Linked DNA regions of Homo sapiens: regions 2, 3, 4, 5 and 6 are each linked to region 1. Evidence: promoter capture Hi-C in 16 types of primary human blood cells and fetal thymus (Javierre and others, 2016). All regions are on one chromosome and are shown on one strand. The core of a region is centred on a gene start or on the middle of the fragment in contact, and the rest is flanking DNA. Distances in the headings are between cores, read along the strand shown.

Evidence for each region. Contacts are between HindIII fragments. The CHiCAGO score rates a contact against its expected background, and 5 or more counts as called.
Region 2: a fragment that was not itself captured here is called in contact with the fragment with the promoter of TMEFF2 in region 1 in 2 of 17 cell types (neutrophils and activated CD4 T cells); the score reaches 6.4 in neutrophils.
Region 3: a contact is called between a fragment that was not itself captured here and the fragment with the promoter of TMEFF2 in region 1, in 4 of 17 cell types (activated CD4 T cells, neutrophils, non-activated CD4 T cells and 1 more). The highest score is 6.9, in activated CD4 T cells.
Region 4: a fragment that was not itself captured here is called in contact with the fragment with the promoter of TMEFF2 in region 1 in 3 of 17 cell types (neutrophils, total CD4 T cells and activated CD4 T cells); the score reaches 9.5 in neutrophils.
Region 5: a contact is called between a fragment that was not itself captured here and the fragment with the promoter of TMEFF2 in region 1, in 3 of 17 cell types (neutrophils, naive CD4 T cells and non-activated CD4 T cells). The highest score is 9.8, in neutrophils.
Region 6: a contact is called between a fragment that was not itself captured here and the fragment with the promoter of TMEFF2 in region 1, in 14 of 17 cell types (total CD8 T cells, megakaryocytes, neutrophils and 11 more). The highest score is 10.7, in total CD8 T cells.

The regions. Positions count from the first base shown.
Region 1 is chr2:192,192,644-192,196,701 of GRCh38, forward strand. It overlaps TMEFF2 (transmembrane protein with EGF like and two follistatin like domains 2), which reads right to left and starts at 2,290. Exons shown (of 10, transcript NM_016192.4): 1 at 1,710-2,290. The coding sequence starts at 1,881. RefSeq lists an enhancer at 2,236-2,811. The HindIII fragment of the contact is 4,792 bases long and covers 1,365-4,058 here.
Region 2 is chr2:191,410,664-191,414,721 of GRCh38, forward strand. MYO1B (myosin IB) reads left to right here. Exons shown (of 31, transcript NM_001130158.3): 27 at 403-509; 28 at 3,385-3,517; 29 at 3,854-4,006. Among named protein-coding and RNA genes, the nearest start is that of MYO1B-AS1, 170 kb to the left of the region's middle. The HindIII fragment of the contact is 775 bases long and covers 1,262-2,036 here.
Region 3 is chr2:191,495,669-191,499,726 of GRCh38, forward strand. No RefSeq gene overlaps it. Among named protein-coding and RNA genes, the nearest start is that of NABP1, 180 kb to the right of the region's middle. The HindIII fragment of the contact is 670 bases long and covers 1,956-2,625 here.
Region 4 is chr2:191,513,862-191,517,919 of GRCh38, forward strand. It overlaps LOC107985833 (a long non-coding RNA gene), which reads left to right and starts at 2,731. Exons shown (of 3, transcript XR_001739229.1): 1 at 2,731-2,802. The HindIII fragment of the contact is 3,630 bases long and covers 189-3,818 here.
Region 5 is chr2:191,531,662-191,535,719 of GRCh38, forward strand. The region is part of intron 2 of LOC107985833 (a long non-coding RNA gene); the gene reads left to right. Among named protein-coding and RNA genes, the nearest start is that of NABP1, 140 kb to the right of the region's middle. The HindIII fragment of the contact is 5,493 bases long and covers 1-4,058 here.
Region 6 is chr2:191,550,987-191,555,044 of GRCh38, forward strand. No RefSeq gene overlaps it. Among named protein-coding and RNA genes, the nearest start is that of NABP1, 130 kb to the right of the region's middle. The HindIII fragment of the contact is 2,051 bases long and covers 809-2,859 here.

The DNA of each region.
Region 1 (4,058 bases), core at 1,040-3,539:
CTTTAAAATATCTGGTAAATATGTAATTTCTTGATTGCAAATGTCAACTTCACATTTAAGTTAGTTATTTCCTAAAACAATGCAAGGGCTAGGAATGAAGCAAACCAGTCTGTGTTGGACTACAAAGCCATCAACATTTCCAAAAATTGTTTTTGCAGGCTCATAATTATTACCATAATAAAGCATCTAAAAAGTGATTAGGCAATAGCAAAGTGAAACTTATTCTTTCAAAAACAACACACATGTACGCATGAATCAAGAAGTTATAGAAACATGTTGAGTTTTATTAAAATGCCAAATTTAGAAACTGCCAAAAAAGAGAACAATCTATTGACCCAAATCTAATAGGGTTGCATATCTCAACTTGTCTTTGTAAAGGATAAATTAGAATGATGCATAATAATTTTCCTTTTGGCATTTACATCAGTAATAACTAGGAACTATACAGGCTTTCACCCTGAGTTACAGTTGGTCATTCCCTCCTCTCTAAAGTTACATACACTTCAGCTTATATACATCTTTGAAAGACACTTTATTCAGAGCCAGATTTAACTACAGCAAAATTATATTCACAGAAGATGAAAAATTACATACACACTTGCTAAAACTAGAACAGACCACACCTAGGGGACAATACCCAGGCATGTTAACGGAGTTTAAAATGCCAAGGAAATTACACCACAATTCTGCCCAGTATACTACAGGCTGTCAAACCGAAATGCTATGCCAGCTAGGAGTGCAGCAACTCCCATCCTCTGGCCCTATTTAATTAGGAAGCTTCAGCAGAGCGAAGCCTGCCAAGCGTTCGCCGTCAGAATCTGAAGGAACCCGAGCGAGCAAGAAGAGTGCCTGACCCACTCCACAGAAGCCTGTCCAGAAATGGAGGAGTCAGCGCCCACTGAAGTCGGTTCCGCCCTCGGCTCGCCTACATGGAGCCTGACCAGCCTCAGTCATGCCCACTCCGGCCTGGGAGACCCGCAAAGTGTTCTTTTTCTCAACTCCCCTGTACTACCTTGAAGCTTAGGGAAGCAAAGAGAGGGGCATATCTGGACTGCAAAACCAATGTCTTTTGCCGCCTAGGAGAGAAGGGAATGAGAGAGAGAGAGAGATAGATAGATAGAGAGAGAGAGAGAGAGAGAGAGAGAGAGAGAGAGAGAGAGAGAGAAATTCTATTGAAACCCAGCTCCTCTAGAATCTGTGTGACCTGGTCTTCAACGGGAGACCAGTGCGACCTCATGGCACCTTTGCCAGGAATCAGCGATTCCCCTGCAGTCACCATTTGATTTATTGCTTTCTCGCTCATTCTTTCTCATAAAGTTATTTCTTCCTCATCCTAGTAAGACTTTTTTCTTTAATGATGACAAAGCTTCTGTTTCAGTGTTTCCCCTAGGATTGGTGCTCTTTCAAAACAGTGAACCCAGAAAACCATCCCGTTTAATATTTCTCAAAATCCTCGCAGCTCCAATGTAAGCGCAAGCATGCAAAGGTTTCCTGCTACACCTGCACTTTCTGCCCATCCCAGAACCACCCCTCACCCCCGGGCCTGCAACAGTTCCCCTTGTTTCTCTGGATAGAGGTGGGTGGTATTAGGGGTCTAGGGCAGTAGGAGGTGAGGGGCTGAGGAGGCGCGCTAGGGTAGGCTGGTCTGTGCTGGATACGCGTGTTCTTCTGCGGAGTTAAAGGGTCGGGGACGGGGGTTCTGGACTTACCAGAGCAATTCCAGCCGGTGGGCGTTTGGCAGTCACTTAAGGAGGTAGGGAAAGCAGCGAGCTTCACCGGGCGGGCTACGATGAGTAGCATGACGGGCAGCAGCAGCAGCCAGCAAAAGCCCTCGCAAAGTGTCCAGCTGCTGCACTGCCGCGGGGACTCCCACAGCACCATGACTAGTTCGTGCAACTCTGCAGCAGCAAACGGCTTCCGAGGAACACAGGATCGCGGGGGCCGGGCAGCGGGCTACTGAGCATCCCGCGGACGGCGGCAGCAGAGGCGGCGGCGGTGGCAGTGGCACCCGGCGGGGAAGCAGCAGCCAAACCCGCGCATGATCTCGAGAGTTTCAGCAACATCCAGGGACTGGGCTCAGCCCCGGAGCGAGAGGGTCGTCCGCTGAGAAGCTGCGCCGGAGACGCGGGAAGCTGCTGCCATAAGGAGGGAGCTCTGGGAAGCCGGAGGACAGGAGGAGACGGGAGTCCAGGGGCAGACGAGTGGAGCCCGAGGAGGCAGGGTGGAGGGAGAGTCAAGGCGCCCCGCAGCCCGGCAGCCGCCTCTCGAGCTCTGCCGCCCGCATCCCTCTGGCGTTTGGGAAGCAGCAGGTCCTCAGCCCGCCCGGGGTCACGTGGGAAGAGGCAGTCGGGCTCTGATTGGTGGAGCAGGATGCAGGTCCCGGGAGGGAGGGGTCGACGAGGAGGTGCAAGGATGCAAGGAGGAGGCGGCCGCGGAAGCCACAGATGGGCTCGCTCGCCAGGCGCTGGCCCGAGTGGGGCTAGGCGGGGATGGCTCAAATGAGAAGCTCGGGCTTCAGGGTGGGCTACCCGCACACTCATATACCATTCGCCTCACTCTCCGCTCCAGGACGCCCCCTACCGAAGGCGGGGTCCGGACTAGCGCCCCTCTTCCGCGCGTGACCCCGGGCCGCGAGTGCGGGCCGCGGCTGGGTGGCGTCTCTCCGAGCTGGAGATGGTGGGGGCGGAGGTGTCAGAGGAGCAGCAGCAGCAGGGCAGAGAGGGGCGAGTCGGCGCGGGAGAGGGCGTCCTGCTGGCGACCGGCGCTCCAGCGTGCGGGAGCGCGCCGCCTAGGCTGTAGGGGGATGCAGGCTGGGAATGTCGCGGCGGAGAGGCCAGGGACGTTTCTCTAGGGATTTACAGGAAAGAGGGTGAGAGGCGATGGTGTTAGAACCGCTCTTGCCGACCTGGAAGCAACAGCAGCATCTCCCACAAGAGCGTGCAACCCCAAGGCTGCTCGCCGAGGCAGCTCAGCCATCCCGGCAGGCGCTCTCCTTCCTTCTCTCTTCTCCCCTCTCTCCTCCCAGGCCCCCCGCAGCTCCGACCCAGCCCAAGCGTTCGCAGGTTTGAATCCCTCTCCTCATCACCCGCTCCTCTCCAGCCCGTAGCCTATTAGTGTGTCCACCTGGGAGGTGCGGTCAGATGTGTTTGGAAGGTCAGATTGGTCGGGACAAGTGGTCTGAGAGAAAGAGAAAGGCTCCTCTGCATACGCCGCGGGTGGGTTGCCGGGAGCATCGGCCGGGCAGCGGCGTCCGGGAAGGGGAGAGCGGGCTCCATTTGTTGGCCCAGGCAGTGACCCTGCGTTCCTTACTCGGGTCTTTGCCGGATGGCCGGTGACCTGGGGCGACGAGAGAAGGTCTAACTCGGCAGGAGTCTCTGGCTCTGCGCGTTTCTTTCATTCTCTCCAGCGGGAAGGGCAAACGGCATAGCGGGACCCGCCTTCCGTCTGCTGCATTCTTCAGGCAGTTAGACACACTCTTTAGCCTAATGGAATTTTAGTCGCCAGTAACGGGACCAAGAGCTTTCGGGGACAAGGGTGGAGAGGAACATCTTTCTTCCATGACCGGGGTCACTATTGCAGTCTCAGTGTTTTGGATGCCCCATAGGGAAGAGCTTTCTTTTTGGTGTGTGATTATTCAGTGATTCCTGTTTTTGTTTTTGTTTATCTTCTCTCCGCTCTCCTTCTCTATTCCTCTCTGTTATCCCTCCTCCTTCTTCTCCCCCCGCTTTCAAAAGCCTCCGGATCCTCCCTTTTTCTATTTAAATTCTCCTTTTGTGCCCCTCTTTCTGTGTCCCCTGAATTTAGGAGAGCATTTGATAACATTTAACAGGCAATTAGTGTCCATTCCCAATCACTTAAAAGAGGCATTCATATACTTTGAAAACGGGACTATCTATCCTTTGCAGACACCAGCAGAAAAACAAATTGTACCCGAGTAATCCTTTTAAGTACTTTAACCTCCAACCTCCTCCCACTTCCTTGCTTTTTAACTTCTCCTTTGAGAGATGTGATCGTGCAGCACCTCAGTGCCTCAACGAAATCTTTTTTTTTTTCCTGTG
Region 2 (4,058 bases), core at 399-2,898, 780 kb before region 1:
TGTGTCAGTTTTCTCTGTATGTGTGTGGAAATGTGCTTAGTGGATTGTGATGCACAATATTTTTACTGTGAGTCTCTCTAGAAGAGTGACAGCCTCAGGACTAGAGGATTTCCAAGGATTGACATAGTGGGAGGAAATAGTACTTGCAAGGCCCGTGCCCACTAGGCCCTGGTGTGTTTTGAAGAAGCATTCCAGGTTCTGCAATACAAATAATACTCTGACGTTTTCCAAGACAAACTTTTTAAAACCCACAAGGGAAAAATGTTTTTGGCCTTTTTTAGTGAATGTTTTGTACTTTCTCCCTTATTCTTGTTGCTGATAAATTGTCTTAGCATATTTAAGAATGAGTAATAATTTATTTATATAAATGATGTTTTGTTTCTTTCTTCTCATATCTCACAGTGTAAAAAATACAGGGACCAATTCACAGACCAGCAGAAACTTATTTATGAAGAGAAACTAGAAGCCAGTGAACTCTTCAAAGACAAGAAGGCTTTATACCCATCTAGGTATTATGGCTTTGCTTTACCCATAAAATTCAGGATTATAAAAGTTTCTCAAGTATATTTGTACGCCGTTTTGCCTGGTGTTTGATTTCAGTCTTAGATGAGTGATTTTTAGTTCTGTGAATCATTTTATAATCAGCTTGATGTAAACACATTTATTTGAGCTATGGCTTCTATAGTGCAGTTTAATGAAATGAGGTTACGATTGTTGGTTTCACTCCATTAGCATTAGCTCAAACACTTTACTAAATAATTAGAAGTCATTTAACATAAAAATTATATAGGCTGTTAAGATACGTTTGCATTGTAAATTCCTGTTCCTTTTCCGTAGTTTTCAAAGACTAGCCAAATTTCTGTTGGCAATATACTTTAATCACCATTCCAGTCTTCCTGCCATAGCAAGCAAGGTCAGAAACTTATTTGTAAGGTAAATGAAAGAGCGAGCCAGGACAGTACTTTTTGAGTGTTGCTTGAGCACTGGTCTGTGGTGCCCTTTGGTCTGCTAACTCAACGGATATGACTTCTGTGGCCTGTACAGCACGTTCAGTTCCTTTATTTTAGACACCGTGGACTCAGAAAAAGAAGGAACACCAATCCCAAGTTCAGCAAGTGAAGTCCTTGGTAAAGACTGTTTATCCCAATAGTCTTACATCTCCTGCATTCATCACTTCCTCCCAGCAATCTAATCCCATTTTCATCTGGTGTTTATAAAAAAGTAGATTGTACAATTTCAAGCCAAATCTGTAACAACTTTAAGCTTCTTCCAATGAATGGCCAAAGAAAGAATGTATTATATGCTGAGTATATTCACATTTATTACGTAAATTATGTTTATATTCTCTGTGACTTTATACACATTTAAAATATCTTCCTTTTAAAGGATTAAAGGAATATACATTGCCAGACTCACTGGGTTTAAATATTTTAAATTGTACAACTTCATTGGTTAGCTGATGTGGCTACTTGAGGTGATACATACTCCCTTAAGTCAAACACAGTGTCTAAATCCAAAGTTGTCCAAAGTGCCTGTTATATAAAGCATATTCAAACAGGAGAATTTGTCTGTATGCTTGCTTCAGCAACTAATTTTATTCAGCTTTTTTTTTATACATTTTTAAATTAGGGAATAACCTTCTTAATGAACATTTCCTGTGGATGACTCTTCAGAAACTACAGGCTGGAAAATACATCTTTGAGGAAACAATTTAAAAGCCTGTTAGCATTTTTATAATTTAAAACACAGTTGAATAGGAACCAAAAAAAGTTAACTTCAAGCCAAGTCCTTTTTGGGTAGTCTTATCAGTTTTCAGGGATAGTGGCACACTCACCCCACAGCAGTGAGAGAGGTGGAATAATTTAGCCTCCCACCACCCTGCAAAGTGGCAGCTCTTATGGGAGTTGGCCTTTTATATCCTGAGAGCTGTGAAACGCTGACCACCTACGTGGATTTTTCTTCCCTTATCCTCCACCCACAACATAAGCATTTAAATTTGTATTTGCAAATTGCCAGAACTTTGTAGCTCAAAATGAAGCTTATAGATTCCTTGAAGCAGCAGTTTTTCCTTGGTGCCTTTGATGAACCTGTCCTGAAAGAGTCCCCCGACAAGTCTTTAGGGAAATTGATATCTTAGTGATAAGTGTACAGTTAACCTTTTACAAAAATTAGTTTGTTTGGGAAAAAAAAAATTGCCCTGATTCTGAATGTTTGCTTTGGTTACTTCTGTCCATTTAGAGGCATATTCTAGGAGAAGAGGCTTGATTCTCCTTTCATATACAGATGCTGCTTAACTTATGATGCAGTTACACACAGATAATCCATCATATGGGTTATGAGTGATTTCTATCTTGATTGTTCCATGTGATGAGATTATTATCAAAGTCCTGCCCACCAAATGCCATGATCACCTCAAAAATATATTTGAAATAGGTTTAAGGTTTCATTTCCAACTTATATTTAGGACAGATGCAAGCGTAATGTATAAAATAAATTGAAGTCAATTTTTATGAAGTTGTCATATGTCATATGAAGTTGAAAATATCATAAGTTGAAAATGCATTTAATACACCTAACCTACTGAACACAATCACTTAGCCTAGCCTACCTTAAACATGCTCAGCACACTTACATTAGCCTACAGTTGGGCAAAATCATCTAACACAAAGCCTGTTTTATAATAAAGTGTTGGATATCTCATGTGGTTTATTGACCACTGTACTGAAAGTGAAAAACAGAATGGTTTATGAGCACCACTGTAAAGCTGAAAAACCCTAAGTCAAACCAAGTCAGAGACCATCTGTATTGCCTACTTAGAACCACAGTTACATGTTAATATTAAGTGTTCTATAGTTTTCTTCTAAAGTGATTGCCCTGGATCTGTTCTTTCCCAGAAGGCCTATTGATTTTCTTATTCTCTGCAAGAAATGAAATTTTTCTTTAGAGCAGGTGATGGTAATGATTTCAGCTCTTTTCACTGCCACATATTGTTTGAAGGCGTTAGTAAATCCTTTGTGAGCAGCTGTTAACTTTATATTAACAGATTAGAAGAAATTGCCTTTTCCTTCACATGAGGCCATGTACTTGAGTCTTAGCTGTTGTTCTTATGAGTGATTTCTGTCTTGATTGTTCCGTGTGATAAGATTATTATCAAAGTCCTGCCCACCAAATGCCATGATCACCCCAAAAGTGTATTTGAAATAGGTTTAAGGTTTCATTTCCAACTTATATTTAGGACAGATGTAAGTGTAATATATAAAATAAATTGAAATCAATTTTTATGAAGTTGTCAGCTACTCCTTAGAATCAACTGACCTGTTTCCTTTTTTTAGTGGTACTTTCATTTGAAACTATTTCTAATGTGCAGGAATTTTTTTCCTTTAGTGTTGGGCAACCATTCCAAGGGGCTTACCTGGAAATCAACAAGAACCCCAAGTATAAGAAACTCAAAGATGCCATTGAAGAAAAGATCATCATTGCTGAAGTCGTGAACAAAATTAACCGTGCTAATGGGAAGGTAAAAATGCTAACCTTGAAGACTGATAAGAAGTACCTATTAGTTGGGATAGTCACCCTGTTTTCTGAATGTAAAAATTTGCATTTCATGTTCTCAGTAGAGTTAACTATGAAGGCGGCTATTTCCCCTTACCTTTAAGCTTAGGTGGAATTTTGCTTGTTCTCTGACATTTTTATGAAATAAAACATATTATTTATGTTCTTTACTGCGTTCTTGGTTTACATAGGTATGTTTGTTGAAGGATATTGGAATTTTTGCAAATAATGCCTTAAACTCATGGACCATTTTTGAGTATTTGTGATCATTGGTTTTATACTATTTTTTATTTTGATTTAGAGTACATCTCGGATTTTCCTCTTAACAAACAATAATCTCCTTCTTGCTGACCAAAAGTCTGGACAAATCAAGTCAGAGGTTCCATTGGTGGATGTGACCAAGGTATCAATGAGCTCACAAAATGATGGCTTCTTCGCCGTCCACCTCAAAGAGGTAAAGGTTCAACAGAAGATTTCTGTGCTTAATCTCTCAGCCATTGATTTAA
Region 3 (4,058 bases), core at 1,041-3,540, 700 kb before region 1:
GAAAGTATAAGAAAATATACTATTTACTAAATCACTATGACACTGATTATCGTGTTGTAAGAAATCTGGAGGAAATGAGTCCCAGGGTTAATTTGAAGACCTAATGAATGACGTCCTCAATGGCACTATCTTGGAGTCACATTTCTTAGATGCAGACATCAAAATCCACTCTAGTTAATTTAAGAAGGAAAGGACCTATTATAGTAAATAGTTCATAGAATTTCTTGGAAAGCCAGGAAACAGTCTTTTTAACCAGGAACAATGCAATTAGGGCAACTGCCTCTAGGGACAATGCGCAATGAAACCACAGGGCCATTATTGATGAAGCACGCCTATAATTACCACCTACCTTGCAGCAGCTATAATTCCAGATCCCCACCTGAGCTGATTCTGAGAACCAGATTCTTTCATCCCCGTGGATGCCAGGATATCAGCCATAGTGATCACATACACAATCCAAGTCTAACACCATTAAATCTAAGGTCATATGCCTCTAGCCTGGCTGCAATAGAATTTTTGAAACGTAACTTTTAGAGTTTTGAAAGTGGGGCCACATGCTTACCTCAGGACCAGTTACTGGCAAAGGCTGTGATTCGTTCTCAAGGGCTGATATTTTCCCTCCATCAAACCGAAATTTTCTGTCCGGGTGTGGTGGCTCATGCCTGTAATGCCAGCATTTTGGGAGGCAGAGGAGAGCAGATCACTTGAGGCCAGGAGTCTGAGACCAGCTGGCCAACATGGCAAAATCCCATGTCTACTAAAAATTAGCTAGGTATAGTGGTACATGCCTGTAGTCCCAGTTACTTGGGAGGCTGAGGCATGAGAATCGCTTGAACCCTGGAGGTGGAGGTTGCAGTGAGCCGAGATCACACCACTGCACTCCAGTCTGGGTGACAGAGTGAGACTTTCAAAAAAAAAAAAAAAAAAACCTGAAATTTTCTTAGTAAGAAAGGGATGAAGAGGAAGGTTATTGGATATGCAAACACTGTTTGTTAAATTCAAATAACTGAGTGCTAACAATGCCAGACACTGTTCTAGTTGCTTGGAATACTTCAGTAAACAAAATGAAAATTATTCTTGCCCTGGAGGGACTTATATTCCCATGGTGGGGGGACAGACATTATTGATGAAGCATATGGTATTGATACATGTCATGCTAGAATGTGATAAATGATTTGGAAAAGAGAAATATTAGAGCAGGGGATTGGAAGTGTAGGGGTTGGAGATGGAGGAAGAATCAAGTTATTAAGTAGGTGCTCAGGAGGGACTTCTTGAAATGTGAGATCTCAGCAAAGGCTTGAAGGAGGAAAGGAAGAGAGCCGCATGACTATGTGAGGAGCAGCTCTCCAGGCTCTCTTGAAGGCCCTACGGGAGGAGTGCCCTGGCATATGAAAGGGACAGTAAGGAGGTCACTGTAGCTAGAGAGGAGCAAATGAGGGGAGATAGGAGATGAGCTCAGGGAAGGAGTGAGGAGCAGGATTATGTGGGGCCTGTGGCTCTTTGAAGGACTCTAGTTTTTAAACTGAATGAAATGGAGAGTCACTGCAGGCTTTTGAGCAGGAGAGGAACATAATCTGAATGTTAACAGGATCACTCTGACTGCCGTGTTGCCAATAGATGGTTGGAGGCAAGGGAAGAAACAGGGGCACCTGTTAGGAAACAAATGCAGAGACAAAGATGATAAGACCAGGGAGAGAAAGTGGAGGGTGGCGAGCCGTGGTTGAGCTTTGCATGTGTTGTTAAGGCAGGGCCAGCAGATACGCTGAGGGGGAGGGATGTGAGCTGGGAAAGAAAGAGCACAGGTTTTTGTTGTGAACAACGGAAAGGGTGGGGCTGTCAACAACTGTCATCAACTGGGATGGGAAAGCTGTGGCTGGAACAGATTTGGGGGAGATGGTGACTAGAGTTCAATTTCGGAGAGGCAAGCTAAGAGGTATCTTATAGGCAGTTGGGTAAGCTTACTATTTGGGTGAAAAGTATGGGTTATAGATATAAATGATCTAGAAACAGTAGCAGCTGGTGCCAGCTTTTCTTTTAAATAAGAGGAGCATTTTTTTTTCTGCCTGGTACAAGGCCTCCAAACTAAGAAAATCATTTGATACTTTCCAAAAGCAACTGTGCTTTCAGACATTGAAACACATTTTTATTTTCTTGAGAGATCTAATCAAGATAAAATAACAAAGAATTGTTAACAGCATTAAAGATCCGTAATATATTTGTTCTTTATTCTTTGGTCTTCCATCTGAGTTTTGAGGGGAGGCAGGATGTTGTAGTATTAAGGGTGTGAGCTCTGGCATGAGACAGAGCAGGGTTTGAGTCCAGGTTCCACCGTGTAATAGCTGTGTGGCCTTGGCAAATTATTTAACTTCTATCAACTTCAAGGTCAGGAGTATTTATAGCACCTACCGTCATTAATGTTTTTTAAATACTATTTTTACCTAGCACCTATCAGTATGCCTGGCAATTCATTCATTCAGCAGATAATGATGCCTACCTATCATGTGCCAGGCATTGTGCTAGGTAATGAATATACAACTATAAATAACACAGACTATCCTTGGCCTTCTGGAAATTACCATTTAGGAAGCAAGCAATTTTTCAAAGAAGAAACTGGAATGTTCAGTAAGCTTGTGAGAACCTGCTCACTCTCACTGATGTTTGGGGGAGGGTGGATGCAAATTAAACTCACAGTGAGATATCACTTCACATCCATTAGCATGGGAAAAAAAGTAATAATTCCAAAGTTTGTTGAGGGCAATGGTGGAAACAAGAGGTCTTTTTCAGTGAAGGTAGGAATTCAAATTGTGCAACCACCTCAAAGATCAACTTGACAATATTAGTGAAGTGGAAAACACATGTCCTCTACAACCCAAAATTTCCACTGCAGGACTGTGCACCGGAGAAACTCTACACATGCACTCAGGGTGACATGCACAGGATATTCACAGCAGCACTTGTAGTGGTAGCAAAAAAGTGGAAGCAACCTAAATGTCCACCAGTGGGGGATTCAAACAACCGAATAATATTCAGAGGTTAAAAATGAATGAACTACATAGGTCAATGTGGAACAATTTCTAAAAATACAACAAAAAGTAAGTTGGAAAATATAATATTCTCTGTCTGATTAAAACATCACACAAAATAGTGTATTATTATACAGTAAAACATTAAAACATACAAGGAAAGGAGGAAAAAGATGAATACAACTGGAACAAGGAGGGAAGGTTTAGCTGCATCTGTGATGATTTATTTCTTAAAAAAAAGAAACAAACATGACAAAATGTGTCTATTAAATCCAAAGACTTACACAAGTGGCTGATATGTATTTTTCTGTATGATTAAAATATTTCATAACCAAACATTAAAAACTCCTTTTTTCTGTGGTAAAATATATATAATGTGAAATTTACTATTTTAACCATTTTAAGTGTACAGTTCAGTAGTATTAAAGCACATTCACATTGTTGTACACTATCACTATAATCCATCTCCAGAACTTCTTTCATCTTCCTAAACTAAATCTCTGTATCCATTAAGCACTATCTCCCTGATATGGTTTGGCTGTGTGTCCCCACCCAACTCTCATCTTGTAGCTCCCATAATTCTCACGTGTTGTGGGAGGGACCCGGTGGGGGATAATTAAATCACGAGGGCGGGTCTTCCCTGTGCTGTTCTCATGATAGTGAGTGAGTCTCATGAGATCTGATGGTTTTTAAAAGCGGAAGTTTCCCTGCATAAGCTCTCTTTGCCTGCTGTCTCCATGTAAGATGTGATGTGCTCCTCCTTGCCTTCCACCATGATTGTGAGGCCTCCCTGGCCATGTGGAGCTGTAAGTCCAATAAACCTCTTTCTTTTGTAAATTGCCCAGTCTCAGGTATGTCTTTATCAGCAGCGTGAAAATGGACTAATACATTCCCCATTCCTCCCTCTTTCCAGACCCTGGCAACAACCATTCTACTTTCTGTCTGTATGAATTCAACTACTCTGCATATCTTGAATAAGTGGAATCATACTATATTTGCCCTTTTGTGACTGTTTTATTCACTTAGCATAATATC
Region 4 (4,058 bases), core at 754-3,253, 680 kb before region 1:
AAAGAAAAGAAAAAAGAAAAAAACAAATTGTGTCTTTAAAAACTATACATTATTCCTCAGGACACACCCCTTGAAACACCTGGAAAGAAGCCTGGTTTCAGCATAAAAGGAACTCCAACACTGTTTATTTCACGTGTGAGATATGCGTATATTCAATGACCAAATAAAGGAAAAGTTATTATTTAGTAAGCTTTTTGGTAATAAACAGGAACTTTTAAATTTTATTCTGTCTTTTTAAAAGACCAATTATTTAAATTTAAGAGAAGAGTATTTGAAAGGCCTTCACTTTAAAATTTACATAAGTAAAATATATACCCAAATCTGACCAATATGATAGCCAGAGGAAAACAAAACCCAAAGGCCTGCCAGGCATGGTGGCTCATGCCTGTAATTCGAGCACTTTGGGAGGCCGAGGCGGGCGGATCACCTGAGGTCAGCAGTTTGAGACCAGCCTGGCCAACAAGGTGAAACCCCATCTCCACTAAAAATACAAAAATTAGTCTGGCGTGGTGGCACATGCCTGTAGTCCCAGCTACTTGGGAGGCTGAGGCAGGAGAATCGCTTGAACCTGGGAAGTGGAGGTTGCAGTGAGCCAAGATTGCACCACTGCTCTACAGCATGGGCGAGTGAGACTTCGTCTCAAAAAAAAAAAAAAAAAAAAAAAAAAAAAGGAAAAAACCCAAAACAAACAAACAAAAACAAAATCCGAAGGTCTTTTTGCTTTAATATCTCACTTGCCCTGACCTCAAATCCCCAACATAAAATCCCTTTCTATGATGCAAATCTTCTGTCAGAAGGTGTGGACATACTGCACTAGAGTCAATCAAGCTGGGCTGCCCACATCTGAATCATGGGGTGCTTACTGAAAAACGCAGATCCTTGGGCCCCACCCAGCTCTACCGAGTCAGGACCACTATGTCTGTGTGGCCTGAGATTTGCATTTTCAGCAGAGTCAGCACTCTAAAGTGCTAATATTATACCATGAAAAATTAGGAAGGGCTAATTTATGAGTTCCCTTATAGAGGCCCCTTCAGGAAGGAGACAAAGAAGAGTTTTATAACGGGAGGGTAGGGGTGGTGGCAGGGGGCGATGGGCCTCAGGGAGAGTTCAGAGATGGAAAGGGGATCAAACATGGAAAAGATAGAAGGTGGAAGCTCTTGAAGAAAACTTCAGCGACTTAACTCCTTTGTCCAAGGCTAGACAGCCACAGAACTTCCTGGGGTGATAGAGCTCTGTACCCCACATCCCCAGGCTTTGGTGTCTCATGACACTGAACAGAACCCCAGCTACTACCTACATTAATTAACAACTGTGAGCCTCAGTTTTCCCATATGAACTGGGTATAAAGTAGAGTTTTGATGAGGATTAAAAGTAACTCAACCAGGAAGATAATTTAACATGATGGTTAAGGGTGTGGTTTTGGAGTTGGGCTTCCAGGCTTCATGTCCCAGCTCCAGCATTTACTACTTGTGTGACCTTGGCAGGTTATTTAAACTGTTTGCACCTCAGTTTCCTCATCTATTTACTGATGCTAAAAAAATTAATATATAGCCCTTTTTTATATAATAAAAAAATTAATATATAGCTAAAAAAATTAATATATAGCAGTTGGGGGGAGTAGGGGTTAAATGAGAAAATACATGTTACAAATCTGTAACAGTACCTAGCATATAATGAGCAAGTCAATAAATGTTACCACCTCTCATCATTATTTCATATATAAAGCAGCTGGCACCTGGTGGGAATTTAATAAATGATAGCTATTATTAGTAGAAATAATCACTCCTGGCTTCAAGACAGGCCAAAACCCTATTACATAATCCTGGCTGAGTCCCCATGCCTTGTTCGTAGTCTGTCATAACAGTGCCATTGAGGTTATTTGGGATAACATGTGGTTAGGACAGTTATTGTGCAGTGGTATATGCACATATAACTGAGCAGAGAGGTTTCTGAATGTTTTATGAAGGTGTGTGGGTGGAGGGGTCGAGTGCCCTGGGGAAGCTGCAGGAGCCTCTCTCCCTCCTTCTGCTTGGAGAACCTGGCAGCTGTCGCAACAGCAACAGCAGAGAGATGGACCTTTTGGAAAGTAATGGACACACTAGAAAAATATTTGAAAATCCATGACCTGTACTTATTTGATTCAAAGCCTATCATAGGAAAAGCCTATCACATTCCCTCAGGAATCTGTTGTTGTTATTTGCCTGCTCACCACAGCAAAGACTACTTCTTTTTCAAGACTTGAAACAATTATAATATATGTATATTTTTTTCTGATGGGCACTGTGTTTTAAGCTCTCTGTTCTTAAAATTTACAAATTTGTATTTGCTGCCCAGTTCTTTATTCTTTGTTGCCACATAAATCCTGCAATCTTGGTAGAAAAATAAAGAATACAGGAGAGCTGTTTGACCTTTGCTCCTTGCTGGGCATTGGTGTCATTTATAGTTATTAGAGTGGGGACAGAACGGAACTCATTGATGACTGAGCGGGTGGGGAGAGAAGGAGGAATGGCAAGCGGGGAAGGGAAAGGAGAGGGAGGAGAACACAGATTACTACAAGAATCTCATGTTGTGCTTTCACTTTGGGCAAGTATAACACTAGTAGTCCTTTGTGGGAGCTCGAAAAGGCACATGGGGGAAATAAGTCTCTGGAATAAACAGTATGACCTTGGCTGCATGGCTCTACTAACTTGGTTTTGCAGAACTGAGATAAATGGATACTAGTGAATTTGCATCAATTCCATTTAAGGCTTTAAAAAGACATATGGATAACATTATTGGCTACAGACCCTTAAGAAAACTAAGGTAAGTTCCTCTCAAGGCTCAAGCTAAGTCTTGTAGCGGGTAAAAATAGAAAGCCTTAGGCTGAAAAGCTGAAGGTCTCTATGTTACCATTGCTGAACCATTGGTTTACTGGGCAGTAGGGCTGGGGATCAATCTAAAAACCTGTCAAGCATGGTTCTTTTTAAAAATAAAACAAGGCCAGGTGCGGTGGCTCACGCCTATAATCCCAGCACTTTGGGAGGCTGAGACAGGTGGATCACTTGAGGTTAGGAGTTCAAGGCCAGCCTGGCCAACATGGTGAAACCCCATCTCACCTAAAACTACGAAAACTAACCTGGCATGGTGGTGTGCGCCTGTAATCCCAGCTACTAGGGAGGCTGAGGCAGGAGAATTGCTTGAACCCAGGCGGTGGAGGTTGCAGTGAGCCAAGATCGCACCACTGCACTCCAGCCTGGGTGACAGAGTGAGACTCCATCTAAAAATAAAATAAAAATAAATAAATAAACACATAAGTAAAACAGACAGCCTGCTTGTTCTCATGGAATACATGACAACAGTAAGCAAACGTAAAAATGCACAGCATAAACCACAAAAATTTTAATTAATAAAAAATGTAGTAAGAGAGGAAGTAAGAAGACTTGCTGTCAGTGTAAATATTCTAAAAACAGTGCTTCTTTAGATCAGGCTAAAATTAATGTCACTACTAAAGTTTCAGACAACTTAGTAATTTGGGCTAAGAAATATTTATTGAGCACCTACTTTGTGCTGGATACTGTGCTATACCATGGGTATATAGTGATAAACAAGGAGATAGAGGCTGGCTTCAATGTAAGGACCTTACACTCTAGTGGGAAAGATTAAAAAACAAACAAACAATGATGCAAATGCAGGACCCATAATGCAAGAGTACATGGCACTTAATAGGTGTCACTTTGGGAGCCCTCTACTGATAGCTACAGAGAGTGTAAGCTGTTTTCGAAGAATTAATGATCAGAGAGATCATCTTGAAGACAGCATTTAAGTTGGACCTTAAAGGAAGCTTAAAACTTCAACAAAGATGTGGAGGGGAAGTTCTTCTCAAATGAGGCACAGCAATGGTGGATACCTCTGCTTAGCTGGGCTGCAGGGTGTGTTTATGAGAGAAGTGAGATGCCAGCTGGTGTTACATTGAGTGGTTTGGACTTCATGGAGAAATACTGAGCCACCAATATTTTTGAGCAAGAAAGTGACGTGATCAAAGAGATAATTTAGGAAGCATAATCTGGTCGAGTTGGGCA
Region 5 (4,058 bases), core at 826-3,325, 660 kb before region 1:
TAACCCCTGCAATCTCGATGACATAATACAAATGAAATCTGTTTCTTGCTTATAGACAGTCCACCTGTGGGAGGAAGGCAGATGGAAGAGGAAATCAATGAGGGTCCTAGGCTGACAGAGACTCTGCCATCTTCAGCAGATGGCTTCCAATATGACCATGAGTGGGCATCAGTGTCAGGTGTCTGAAGCAGAAAGCGAGAGCATGGAGAATTCCACAGATGATATACAGAAGATTGCATAGAGGCCTGGAGAGAGGGTGCACCCTTCCCCTCACATTCCACTGGGAAGAATTCAGTCACTTCGCTTCAACCTACCGCAAGGGAGGCTGGGAAATGAGGGCTCTGGCTGGTTAGCTGCTGCCCAGGGACATCTTTACAACATGGAAGGGCAGCATATGGGTGGCAGCTGGCCTTCTCTGCTGCTCTAGAATACAGAACCTAACGAGAGAAAGAGAGAAAGAGAGAGAGAGAGAGAAGGAAGAGAGAGAGAGAGAGAGAGAGAAGAGGAAAGGGATGGATGATCCAAGGCAGAAATTATGTGGCATGTGATGAGAGAGGAACAAGGACAAAAAGAGTGTCCAGGACATCAGTTAGAGAGATGAATGGAAGCACAATAAGGATGCAAGTAAAAATAGAAGCAATTAATGTGAGAAATGTCCTTTGATCCTTTTGTACAAAAACAAAGCAGCATGCTTCAAACCTCCCTCTGTGTATGTCTTGCCTAAATTTTTCTCCTCGGACTCAACCTTCCATTCATTTTCTATGCTTCACTCTGCCAGAGAGACTATGAAAGCCTTTCAAAAGTAGTTTTCAGTCCTGACTTTGAGTAAGAATGCTACGCAATACTAAATCTTCAACACTCTACTTATTCCAGTTTTCCCTTAATGATGTTACCCTGAGGAACTTTATGGCTAGGAAAAAAAATTACAAGTGTCACATACTTTTTTTTTTTGAGACAGAGTTTCATTCTGTTGCCCAGGCTGGAGTGCAATGGCGCGATCTTGGCTCACTGCAGCCTCTGCCTCCCAGGTTCAAGCAATTCTCCTGCCTCAGCCTCCCAAGTAGCTGGGATTACAGGCATGTGCCACCACGCCCGGCTGATTTTTGTATTTTTAGTAGAGATGGGGTTTGACCATGTTGGTCAGGCTGGTCTCGAACTCCTGACCTCAAGTGATCTGCCCACCTTGGCCTACTAAAGTGCTGGGATTACAGGCATGAGCCACCACACCTGGCCCAAGTATCACATAATTTTTTTTTAAAACAAAAACAAAAACAAAAAAACAGCTTGTCATCCATTAGCTATATATATATTCAAATGCTGATTAAATTGCTGATGTATTTTTTTTTGGTTAAGTGTTATTCTGTCAGTGACCCAAGAGTCTCAGAAATAAAGTGAATTTCTAAAGAGAGAGTCCTCACACCCAGAATGAAGGCGGAAGGCTACTTCTGGAAATAAAATTGTGCAGATGTAGTTGCAAGTGAGTCAGCCTCAGTGAGAAACAAATTGTTTGAACAATAGACTTAATTAACTTGTGTTTATGTCTTCCATCATGGCAGGTGTAAAGTCCCAGGGCACCTGCGGATACACCTGAGCTAGAGCCTAGAGTTGCTTCTAGAAGAGAGTGAAAAATGACTGAAGCGTTAAATAAGACCATGATGGTATGGTAGCTCTCCCCTGCTGCCTGCGGGTAAGGCTCCAAAGGGAAGAGAAATATAGGACTGAGTTCCTGGAGCTTTGTCTACTATATTTCTTTTAACTTGAAAAGAGCATTTAGCACTAACAGAAGTGCAGTTTGGGTTGGCTTATAACGAGGATCCTCTCTATTGGGGGATGTATGCTGCTTCTAAATAAGAAAGAGGAGTGTCAGGAAGGTGAGTCTAACTGGCAAGAACAGGGGTCCAAATCAAATCAATCCCTTTCTCACATCTAACCTGATGGAGAGAAATCCCTTGCTTGTACAATGATGCATATTTGGGGAAATGCTTGAGGTGCTTCATCTCAGGTTTAGTTCTCTATAAAAAGAATTAAATGTTTCTCTTTTTGGAAATATTTCTGTCGTAATTTGGGCCTGCCTTCATTAAATGCTCTTTTTCTTAGACTTTTTTTTTTTTAGTGTTTATTGTAATGTGTATTAAATATGGCAATAAAATGCCTGGAGATAAACAGTACAGAGCATAAACATAACTTCTTGTCTAGTTGTGTGTTCAAGGTTGGCTTCATCCACTAATGATTGGGTTATGAAACTCACTTGGGTTTTTTTACTATTTAAAAAACTCAATCTACTTATTATTCATCTTACTGATGAGGCCAACTGCATTCAGTGTCAATGATGCAATACTCACTTGGTAGAGAAATAGCTTCCTTCCTGAATTCTTATTTTTGGTCTGAAAGTTTGCTGCCAATTTATAACATAGTTTTAGAGAGAAAAATATAATTGATAGGTAGAACTCTTTGAAGATTCAGGTGAATCCAAGGTGAAGAGAATAATTGAACATATTGTAGCTGTATTACTTTTATTTAAGACTGATTAAAATGCTGATATAGAATGTGTGTGTATTTTTGTACATAATTTATTCATTTCTCAATATCTCATCAACAATTATGGAGCACTTTCTCTATGACCAGCATGCTGGGGGCTGGCAGTACAAGGAGAATAAGATGGCCACAAGGAGGTGGGAGTAGAAGGAGATCTGATCTGGTAAGATGATCAGTTCGATCATTTTTGGAATATATTCACTAAATGTGACCTTGGGAAGAGATTTCATGAAGTTCTCTTACATTGTTGCAGGTTACTGTTGGCTTTTATACATTGAGCCTTTTAGCTGTTACAGCATATATGACACGTATACAAACTCATTCAGTCGAATTCCTCAAACTGCTATTGAACTACCTTTGTGCTAGAAGCAGTGATACGATGTGAAAGAACACTTGGTCTTCTTCAGGAGTTGCTTGAGGCAGAGAGTCATGCAAACGATAAGTTATATGGAAATAGCTTAAGCACCAAGCATGAAGGAAGCATAGATGAAGTCAGGTGATCTGTGCTGCCTGGAGAGAGCTCTTGAGATGAGGGGCCATTTGAAGTGAGCTTTAAACGTTGAGTGTGAGCAAAGAAGAGAGAAATGGGCAAGCCAGGTAGAGGGAACAGCAAAAAGGAAAGAACCTGAGGCAAGAAAAGGCATGGACCATTTAGAAAACAGTGGGAGACTCTGTGTGGCCAGATCAATGAATTCGTGGCAGTTAATGGTTGGGCATGAGGGCAGAGAAGCCAACTGGGAACAGTGTGGGCATGCCACTTTGAGGAATATTCCAGAGGATTTTAAGCAGGGAAATGAAGTTCTTATGTGTGGGAGGAAAAGTATGGTGGTAAGTGGGCTGTACATTGTGGAGGGGAGAGACTGAGGATAGCAAGGTTTTCTAGCCCTTTATAAAAGAGGTGCTGGGAGCCTAGACTGCAGAATTGGAATGAAGAACCAAGTTGCTACAGATAAGGAACTGGACTGGGCTTGAGGCAAATAAACCTTTAAACCAGTTTAGTTGAAAGGATAAGGTTCTGGGGGTTTACAAAGGCATCAATAACAAGGAAACAAAGTACTAGAGGAGGCTCAGGTTAGTTAGGAACCAGTTAGTTTGAGATGGGGGGAGTTGATTTAATGAAAGTGTCTTGGCTAAAGTATTGGAGTGTAAGGACAAGCCACAGATATAACACATTGATAATTGAGAACTTTGCTCAAAATAAATTATCCCACTGATGTTGTTTTCACTATCGAATACAGAGGTGAATATCTGTCAAAATGGCCTGGCAACCCTGCTTTGGTGGGGCAGCTTATTTAATATTATGAAAATTAACTATTCATTACTTTCCAATTTCAATCCCATTACGCATTGCATAACCCAACTGGGCTAAGGGGTCCAAGGTCTACGTTCTCTACCAATTCTACTACCACAAACAGTTATCTTGAGAAAGCAAACTTTCAACTTTCCTTCAATAAAATGATTGCTATTGTATATCAATCAGTAGAGCTTGCATGTCTGTTCTCTCCCATTGCTCAAAATGAGCA
Region 6 (4,058 bases), core at 584-3,083, 640 kb before region 1:
TAATTTTTGTATTTTTAGTAGAGATGGGATTTCACCATGTTGGCCAGGTGGGTCTCGAACTCCTGACCTCAAGTGATCCACCTGCCTCGACCTCCCAAGGTGCTGGGAGTACAGGCGCAAGGCACCGCGCCCAGCCTCAGTAGATTTGACAGATTTGGTTACCTATGTTTTACTTTATTACCATGAGATTCCAGTCAGGTGAAATACATGAAAATAATTATAGTCATGCAAAAATTATGAAGAAAAAGAAAGAGAAAACCACACCATAGAAGCGGGAGTAAGAACAGTTGACGAAGATGTTGCATTCCCATTGCATTCCTGGCAACAGCTCAGAGTTTGAGGTGTAACAGATGCTCAGTAAATGTTTTCTGAATAACATTGAACAGTGTTTCAGGTAATGGAAAGAGTTTGGTACAGCAAGAACATGGGAGGGTGTGAGAAATGGTGGTAAAATATTAGGCTTGAGCCCCGCTATTGTGCCTTGTTGGGAAAGTCCTCCAATATTTATCCATCGGAACTGAGGAGGTTAAAAAAGCCAGGTCTCCAGGGGAACTTAGGAGTCAACAGGACCCAGAGCAGGTGGGGAGTTAAACCGGATAAGGTTGGAGACAAAAACAAAATTTCAATCTATTGGGAACATTTAGGAAGAGTTCTTTCACCAGAGAGGGCAGGATTTAGTTTGTGGTGCTTTAGTGACAATAGGTAAGAAGGAAGGGAACACCCCGCCCAACTTCTTTGATTATAACACTGAGACATACTAGTCAACTATGAACTTACATTTGATCAGCAAAATCCAAGAATCAGAAAAAGCTTTCATCAGAGTACCCTCTCCTGCATCACTGCTGGTTCTCTAACCCAGTCCCCAGTTTATAGTAAATTCTTGAGAGAGAAAGACGAGCTATAAAACTGCAAAGGAAAACCAAGGCCAGGCTACTTTAGATGTGAGCTGTTTGCTAGTATATTGTGTCCCCAGCCAGCATAGGTTATACTACCAAAATAAAATGAAAAGGAAACAAATATTGTGGCTGCCATCTGTGTAATACGGAATTAAATGTCTTTCTGGCTCTACAGAAGGCACCACAAGCTAGATGTCTTCATGCTCGAATATCCCAGAGGCATTTTTTTTTTATTATTATTGGTTGGAACAGCAAGAAATAAAGACTAAGATACATTTAATATTTAACTCTAAATCTTTAGTCTCCCTCATTAGTCTGACTTGCCTGCAGCCATATTGCTGTAAATTAAACAACCTAAGCTGGTATGTTGCCAAAGCGTACATCCGGTGAAATGTTAACAGTTCTTGTTCTTATGCCTGATCAAGTTAAAAACAAGAAAGTAATCTGTTTGCTATCCAGGGAGGTCATTAGAAAGGATGGTTGAAAAAAAACAAAAGCAAAAACAAAAAACTGTCAACGTATTTTGGAAGTTGGAAACTGAAAACCGGCTCTACAGCTCTAAGCTGGTCTTTGTAGAAAGCGGCTAATGGAGCTAAATATGGAAACTACTTCTTTTGATGGGGACCTCGTTACAGAAGAGTTTCAGGAAAGCTGGTTTATAGTTCCCCTATCACAATGTTGCCAAATTATCAATGCCCGGAGGAATGAGAAAATGCCTTCTGACCAGTGGAAGCCGATAAAGTAATACTTTCATTTGGAATGCCACAGAAAAGATAGCAGAAGCTAGAGTTCTCAGCTGGATAACTCACTGTGCCAGGCGCGGTGGCTCACGCCTGTAATCCCAGCACTTTGGGAGGCTGAGGCAGGCGGATCACCTGAGGTCAGGAGTTCAAGACCAGCCTGGCTAACATAGTGAAATTTCATGTCTACTTAAAAAAAAAAAAAATTAGCCAGGAGTGGTGGCACATGCCTGTAGTCCTAGCTACCTGGGAGGCTGAGGCAGGAGAATCGCTTGAATCCGGGAGGCGGAGGTTGCAGTGAGCTGAGGTCGTGCCACTGCACTCCAGCCTGAGCAACAGAGTGAGACTCTTGTCTAAAACAAAACAAAAAACAAAAAAGATAGAGAATGCACTGAGCCAGAACACAGGAACTATCCTTCATGTGAGCAACTGGCCAGAATCTTTTTTTTTTTTTTAATGTGGAAATGTGGCTTGGTCCTCTCTTCAGATTTAACTCATTTGATCAATCTTATTGATCAAGAATGGACAGTTAGCTGTCATTCTCTTCCTTCCATACTAATGACAAAAAATAAGTCCTGATTCGACAAATTATTTGATCAGCACAAACTGTTTATTAACAAAGAACAGAGGACCACACGTTGTCTTTCTCCTGCTTTCCTGTGTCTGTAATAGAGTGGCGCGAAGACAAACACATTCCTGGATCTGTCAGCTTCACCTGACTTGACTCTGGAATTCTCAGTAAGCCTATCTGCTTAAACCACAGTCTCTCAGCCTCAGTTGCTTGTTTGAATCACGGGGAGCTCTGGAAGCTCCTTGTACTCCAGCCATACTCCACACCAGTTACAGCATTATCTTTGTTGGGGGCAGGTGTGACCCAGGTATCAGTATTTTTTAATGATGCCTAAATGATTCCAGTAAGCAGCCAAGTTTAAGAATTGCTGCATTCTCAATCTTGGTGACATATTAGATTCACTTGGGGACCCAGACCAAGCTAGTCAGAATCAGAATTTTTTTAGTCCCCCAGGTGACTCTCATATGCAACCGGGGCTGATAGTTTCTGCCTTTATATAGTGATTCTCAAAGTATGATCACAGAGCTTGCATTAGGGGTACTCACTTTCCTTATTAAATATTTGGTTTCCAGCTCCACCCCAGACCTATTGAATCAGAAATAGGACTTCACTTCGTTTTGCGAGCTCTGCAGGTGATCCACATCCTCTTTAAAGCTTGAAATCCACCACCTGAAACTTCCTCTATCTCTGCTTGAAGATTCCTCAACTTCCACAAAGAAAGATTTATTCTTTTTACCTGAGGAAGACGGAGTTTATATTTCTGTGAAAGTGCAAATACAATGGCATAACATGCAAAATACATTAGGTTTGAATATGATGAACCTGATCAAGAAGAAAAAGGAATCAACCAAACAAAACCAACCAAAACAAACAAAAACAAGACATTGGGTAAAAAGAACAAGGTGCAGAACAGCTGGTATAGCATGTGCCTTTTTTAAACCATAAAAAGGAATAGTTGTATGAATATTCTGGGTAGCTGCTAGGAAGACCTTTTATAATATGTGTCATACACACATAATTCTTCTATTCAAAAATAGAGTAATTAAAAATGCAAACATTACAGAGAGAAGTCATATTAAGCCTCATTAATGTTAAAAGATAAACTGAGGCACATTAGAATATTAAGGAGTTTATTTGAGCAAACGATTCATAAATCAGGTAGCATCAGACTTCAGGTGGCTCGAGGCTCCACCAAGAGGGCAAGAGAAGGCTTTAAAAGGGTTAATTGGTGGCTCCTGAGTTTTAAAGCTGAAGTTGCATTTTCCTAGAATATGACCATTGATACTTGGGTTTCGGTTTGCTTCTGTAGGAATCCAGGGCCCTGGAGCTGGCTCAGCCTAATGGCCTCTCCATTAATTATCTTAGTTACTTATACCTAGAGTGAATCATTTTATCAAAAAAAATTTTCTGAACAGCTTTTGATTTGAGGAAGAACAAGTAGAATAAATGTCCTGAGGACTAGGGAAGCCAAAGAACGTGTGGAGGAGAGGCACAGGAAAGAATCTCAGAGCCTTGAAGTCGGCATTTGCCAACTTTACATTTTTGTTCAAGGTCAGTCTTGACCTTGATTTACATTCCCAAAGATGGAAACAAACCAGTGTGTGTTCTTCACCTGTCACCGACACTCGTTTAGAAAATAATTGGGGTCGTCCCGGCGCAGTGGCTCGTGCCTGTAATCCCAGCACTTTGAGAGGCTGAGGCAAGAGGATCGCTTGAGCCTGGGAGTTCGAGACCAGCCTGGACAACATACTGAGATCCCTGTCTCTACTAAAAATACAAAAATTAGCCAGGCGTGGTGGCGCGTGCCTGTAATCCCAACTACTGGGGTGGCTGAGGCACGAGAATCGCTTG